Regions from separate parts of the Homo sapiens genome. Here region 1 is linked to region 2. The links are contacts of gene promoters, found by promoter capture Hi-C in blood cells and fetal thymus (Javierre and others, 2016). All regions are on one chromosome and are shown on one strand. The core of a region is centred on a gene start or on the middle of the fragment in contact, and the rest is flanking DNA. Distances in the headings are between cores, read along the strand shown.

Evidence for each region. Contacts are between HindIII fragments. The CHiCAGO score rates a contact against its expected background, and 5 or more counts as called.
Region 1: a fragment that was not itself captured here is called in contact with the fragment with the promoter of SDC1 in region 2 in 1 of 17 cell types (endothelial precursors); the score reaches 5.4 in endothelial precursors.

The regions. Positions count from the first base shown.
Region 1 is chr2:20,324,355-20,327,394 of GRCh38, reverse strand. PUM2 (pumilio RNA binding family member 2) reads left to right here. Exons shown (of 21, transcript NM_015317.5): 2 at 17-85. The coding sequence starts at 35. Among named protein-coding and RNA genes, the nearest start is that of PUM2, 25 kb to the left of the region's middle. The HindIII fragment of the contact is 852 bases long and covers 1,156-2,007 here.
Region 2 is chr2:20,223,815-20,226,831 of GRCh38, reverse strand. It overlaps SDC1 (syndecan 1), which reads left to right and starts at 1,702. Exons shown (of 5, transcript NM_002997.5): 1 at 1,702-2,030. The coding sequence starts at 1,965. RefSeq lists enhancers at 375-1,054, 1,055-1,734 and silencers at 1,286-1,665, 1,726-2,145, 2,186-2,245, 2,266-2,725. The HindIII fragment of the contact is 9,225 bases long and covers 1-3,017 here.

The DNA of each region.
Region 1 (3,040 bases), core at 332-2,831, 100 kb before region 2:
TTTTGTTATTCAACAGGTTTGATCTGTGGATGAAATGAATCATGATTTTCAAGCTCTTGCATTAGAATCTCGGGGAATGGGAGAGGTAAATGTTTGCAAATACTAAGAACTTACACCTCACTTTATTTTGAGCCATTGTAACTTATTTTTTTTTTTTAACCATCTCCCTTCCTGGAAATAGTGGTCATATCTTCCAAACTATATGGAGGGGTTTAAATTTCAGATTGTACAATTCTGTTGTGATTTTTAGCTTTAAAAAAAAAGCTTTTAGCAGTAATTTTTAGTGTGATTATTTGTGTCTAGGTGATTTGATTGACTTGGTGAGATAATTTCTTATATTTTGGTAATGAACTATAATTAGCTTTGCTTGAAAAAAACTCTTTAGCCTTGTTCTGCTGTTTTATATATGTATGCTGTGTTTGCTTTAGCCATACTTGTTTTACTATTCTCCCTTCCAAAAATCTCTTGTTCACCCAAAACTGTTTACTTAACAAACTTCTAATCTTCTACAAGACTCGACTGGGATGTATCTATTGTCTAGTTGCTATCTGCCATAGAATTAAGCCCTTCATCTGGCTTCTAGTTCTTCATACAGACTTTTATTATATTGCTGGTTAGTTTGTTTTACACTTGTCTCCCCTGTAAATTATTAGCTTTGAATGCCTAGCATAGTAGGCACTTCGCATTTCTTAATGGATTTTATCATTCTCGTTAATCTATGATTTTCTTTGGAGCACCAAAGTTAACCTCATCATTATATATTTTAAGGCATCAAATACTTCATTTTTCATATAGCTAATGAATACTTAGAGAACTTTGATTATGGAAACTCTTGTGGTGACATCTGTATTTTGTCATGTTCTGTACTACTAACGTAGACTTTGATAATAGAAGATAACAGTGAACAGACCTAAGATGTGTAATTAACTGCTTGCTCCTGGAGATTATTTTACCTTGGTAGAATAGAGACCTTCATGAGACTCACTCCATCCAATGCTGTGCTCTTCAGATGCAGAAAAGAGTCCAAGTCTCTCCTTTGGGCCACAAGAGGGCACCCTGCAGCTAGCTAACCCTCCCCTTCTTCAGAACAGCGTTTTCCAAAGAGTATGTCATTTTCAGAGGACTGATTTAAGGGTGAGTTAAGGTGCTTAAGCTTAAGTATTGCCAAAATAAATTTGTTAGACCAGTGCATAAGGTAAAATTCTCAACCCTAAGAAAAATTGAAGAAATTGAATTTTTTTTGTAAACAAAATCTGTAGCTTCACTGCAGTGCAATATCTGGTTAGGCATTATTTATGCTATTGGCAAATAAGAGGCAGATGAAAAGGGCTTTTGTTCTTTCCTGGCCACTACTTTTCTTTGCTCTTTAAAAAGCAGAATAACATATATTAAAAGCAGGGTTGAACAGTGCTTCAACCTTCTTGTCTATGACAAACTTGAACTTGCTGATAATTCTTTAAGAGCAAGAGAGTCAGGCTGGGCACAGTGGCTCACACCTGTAATCCCAGCACTTTGGGAGTCCAAGGTGGGCGGATCACAAGGTCAGGAGATAGAGACCATCCTGGCTAATACGGTGAAACCCCGTCTCTACTAAAAATACAAAAAATTAGCCGGGCGTGGCGGCAGGCGCCTGTAGTCCCAGCTACTCGGGAGGCTGAGGCAGGAGAATGGCGTGAACCCGGGAGGCGGAGCTTGCAGTGAGCCGAGATTGCACCACTGCTCTCTGGCCTGGGGGACAAACCGAGACTCCGTCTCAAAAAAAAAAAAAAAGAACAAGAGAGTCATACTCCTACATTAATTTTAGACTCCCTTTATCACTTCTTAGATGTATATTGTATATATGTTTTCAAACTGGTGTTTTTTCACTCTTTCTAAATAATATTTAATAATTTTAAAGTTATCTTTGCAGATCAAAAAAATGTCATGATCTGAAACAGTGGTTGAAAGGGTTTAGTTATTTGGGGGAAAGAGTAGCTGGGTTGAATGGTATGTTAAAAGAAAAAAGCTTAAATCCAGACTTCCTTATTGGACATGTCAGATATGGAGAGTAAAAGTGACCACGGTTTCCTGCTACCTGGTGGATAGCAGCATGTCAGTGTATCTGTAACCTTCATCCAGTAAAAATATATTTTAAGATGCTCTCATTAGTTTATTTCTTAACAGTTTAAGCACTAACACTGTCACCTCAAAAAGATAGCTAAGAAAAACCTACTGAGATTTCTGTCTCTGGGTTCTCTCTCCCACAAGCCTTTCTATCTTTCCTCATCTCACAGGCAGCAAGGAACCTTCTGGGATTTCCTTCTTTGCCTCTCTCTCTCACCAGTCTTCTCCTCCTTTCCTGACAGGTGAGGTTTTTTTGTTTTTGTTATATCCCAGAATTCATTCATTGGAATAAATTAAAAGCAGCCTTGAGTTTCTGGCTCTTAAGTTTTCTAAAAATGCTTTTTTTTTTTTTTAATGCAAAACGGTTTTTAAAATAGATTACCCTTGTCTTGACTTTCTTTAAAAATAGTTTTTGCTTACTGTTGTCTTAAGTGTTGTAAATCTCTAATGTACAAAGTGTTACATCTACATGTAGGACTAATTTCAAATTTACTGTGTTTTGTAGATCATGATGTCTTTACTGAGCCATCATCAGAAGGCATCCACAAATAAGAGATTTGTATTCACCTATTCATAAACTTACCCTCTCTGTTTTTACACTGATAGCATGTTTCTGTCGAAAGACCTACTGATTTGCATTATGTCATGTGGCTTAAAAAGAGCAAAACTAATCTATAGGAGATTGAACTCTGCTTTATTAGTGTAGTGTTAAGTCAGACACACTGCATAGGCTCATACCTATTAGCTTCTCTAGGTTGTTGGGGCACATATAGCTGGGTTTCTGCTTATTTTTTAAATAACAGGAAAGAGGGCCCTGTCTGAAATTCTTCAGAAAATCCAGAATCTAACTTTAAATCACTGAATTAATATCTTTTATTTTGAGAATATCTTTATAGCTTAGTATGATAAGCAGTGCTCTCTCCTGTCTTTCCAACAC
Region 2 (3,017 bases), core at 453-2,952:
TTCACCGTGTTAGCCAGGCTGGTCGAGAACTCCTGACCTCAGGTGATCTGCCCGCCTCGGCCTCCCAAAGTGCTGGGGTTACAGGCGTGAGCCATCGCGCTTGGCCGTGAGTGACTTTTAAAAAATGAAAAGACTCCATCAAATCCTCCCTGACCCCAGTTTCCTCTGTTGTGAGCAGTAGAGAAAGGTAAGATTCCAAAATTCCTATTTTTCCACCATACTGGGTTGAAGGGATCTGTGGAGCCACCCTCTGGTAGAGGTAGAACCTTCGAAAAGGGCATTTTTAATCCACAGGGACTCCTCGAGCTCGGCTGGACCTCCGTGGTGCCGTGCTGTGAGACCATCCATCACTCAGGCACTCAGCGAGCCCACATCGGCCCCCAAGAACCCTGATGAAGGTCTTCCTGCCCCCTAGACAGACTTGGGGAGACGGACACCCCAAAAGCGAGAGCTCTTTGAGGTCAAACAGGTGCTCAGGAGCAGGGGTACAAGCAGGCCATCATCTTTTAGTGCTGTGAGGAGGAGTGGGGGGATGAGATGGGGACGCAGGAGGCTGCTCGGCTCCAGAGCCTGCTCCACGGTGGAAGGTGGAGGAGAGTCCAGGGTCCCACGGTCAGTCCCTGCGTGGCCCAGGAAGGTTTAATTCTTTTAAAGAGGAACACTGGACACTTCCCGATATTTTCTTGGTCCCCAGCTCAGGCCGACCCAAGTTCTTGCCTTCCGCCTAGGGAAGACAGGGGAGGACGACGCCATCTTTGGTCTCAGGGCCCAGGTGCGAAGGTCGTTTGGCACCATCTCTCCTGCCTGCCAGATGTGGGCAGGGCCCGTCCGGTTCTTCCCCTTTGCTCTCTCGGCCGTTTCCCCTACACCCGCAGGCCTTCCACAGCTTTTTGAACTGAGGCCCAGGGCCTCGCAGGGGATCTCGAAGGAGCAGCAACTGCACGGTGCTCCTCAGATCCGCGTGCCCGAGGTCACCGGGGAACAAAGAAGTTACTTATTTTTCCTTTTAGCTCAGATGAAGAGAGAGGGCGTTGTCTTCCACAGAAAAACGCTGCGAACTCCGCCCCCGTCCCCCTTTTTCTTGCAGCCCTTCCGTGCGGGTGCAGCTGTTTAAACTAAGGCCCCAAGTCTCCAGCACTTTGTGGAGTGCAGGAAGAACGCGAGCGTACGGGAGAATCTGGGCCGGCGGGGCGCAGCGAGCCGCATCGCAGCTGGAGGACAGCCGGGGTGTGTCTGTGTGTGTTTGCCCGTCGGTTGAAGGCCCCATCGCCCCCGGGTCCCCGCCCTGCCCCAGAAAGCGTTCCCCAAGAGAGCTAGGAGTCCTGCGCACCTGGAGCGCGCTCCGCGTCCACGCCCAGAGGGCGCTGCACACTCGCGCCCGAGGACTGCCTGCCCCCCTTCAGCCCCTCTCCCGGGCTGCGCCTCCGCACTCCGGGCCCGGGCAGAAGGGGGTGCGCCTCGGCCCCACCACCCAGGGAGCAGCCGAGCTGAAAGGCCGGGAACCGCGGCTTGCGGGGACCACAGCTCCCGAAAGCGACGTTCGGCCACCGGAGGAGCGGGAGCCAAGCAGGCAAGAACCTTAGGAGCGGGCCGGGGGTGGGGCGTTCCGAAGGGGCCGGGAGGGGTGGCTGGGGGGCGGGGTCCTGGGGGGTGTGGACTGGGGCTGGCCGGGAGACCTGGCGGAGCTGGGGGTGGGGGGCCAGTTTTTGCAACGGCTAAGGAAGGGCCTGTGGGTTTATTATAAGGCGGAGCTCGGCGGGAGAGGTGCGGGCCGAATCCGAGCCGAGCGGAGAGGAATCCGGCAGTAGAGAGCGGACTCCAGCCGGCGGACCCTGCAGCCCTCGCCTGGGACAGCGGCGCGCTGGGCAGGCGCCCAAGAGAGCATCGAGCAGCGGAACCCGCGAAGCCGGCCCGCAGCCGCGACCCGCGCAGCCTGCCGCTCTCCCGCCGCCGGTCCGGGCAGCATGAGGCGCGCGGCGCTCTGGCTCTGGCTGTGCGCGCTGGCGCTGAGCCTGCAGCCGGCCCTGCCGGTGAGTGCGGCCGGCGGCCAGGCGGGGAGGCGGCGGGAAGCCGGGACTGGTCACCCGCGGATGCCGGCGGGTGCACGTGGAGGGGGAGGGGGAGCGAAGACTTCCCTTCTTCCCGCGCTAGCCCAGCGGGTCCCGGGACGGTGAGCCCCGAGACCAGGGCTCCAGCCCCAATTTCCTCCGCTGTCGGTGGGTGCCGCACCGGTCCCGCGCTGGGGAGGGTGGGGGGCCGGGGCCCCGCGCTCAATTATGTAAAACGTCTCCACATCTGTCGGAGCCCGCCAGCCCACAGCGGCGCCCGGGGTCGCCCGTTCCCACCCTCCTCGCCCCGGCCACCGCGGCGGCCGGGCCCCCGTCGGTGACCCGGGGGGATGCAGTGACCGCGGCCACAACGCCCCCCCTGCAGACCCTAATTCAAACCAGACCCGCGGGCTTGCGCCCCAGCGCCGCCGAGCCCGGGCGCCCCGCCCCTTGCGCCAGGGCAAGTTTGGGCGCAGCGCGGCCGGCGCGGGAGCGGGAGGCGGCCGCGTTGGCCCGGGGAGCCGGGCCAGGGCTGCGTGGGGGGCGCGGGCGAGCGTCTGCAGGGCCCTCGGGCTTGCCGTGGGCGGCTCGAGGTGAGCTGAGCCGGCCCGGCAGCGGGAGGTTCCGGGAAGTTGGCCTCGGAACGCTGGAGACCCGGAGGAGCCCAACTTCTGGGCTGCTGAAGTTGAGCTGGCCCCGGAGGGCGCGTTCCCGTGCCGGGCACGGCCGAGGCGCAGGCGCCTTCCACGCGAGGGGACCCGGGAATGGCCTCCCGCTCCCCGGCTCGGCTTTGTGCTGAAGCCGCGCGGAGGGAAGGCGGGTCCCTTGGCCCGCCCAGTGCAGCTGGGAGAAAAGAGGGGCAGATGTGGAGCTCGGGGCTGTAAGAGGCCTTTGGGTGGGATGCAGCATCCACCTTCAGCGGGGCTGACGCTCCACTAAAGAGGGACGTGGCCGACAAAGAGCAGCCTG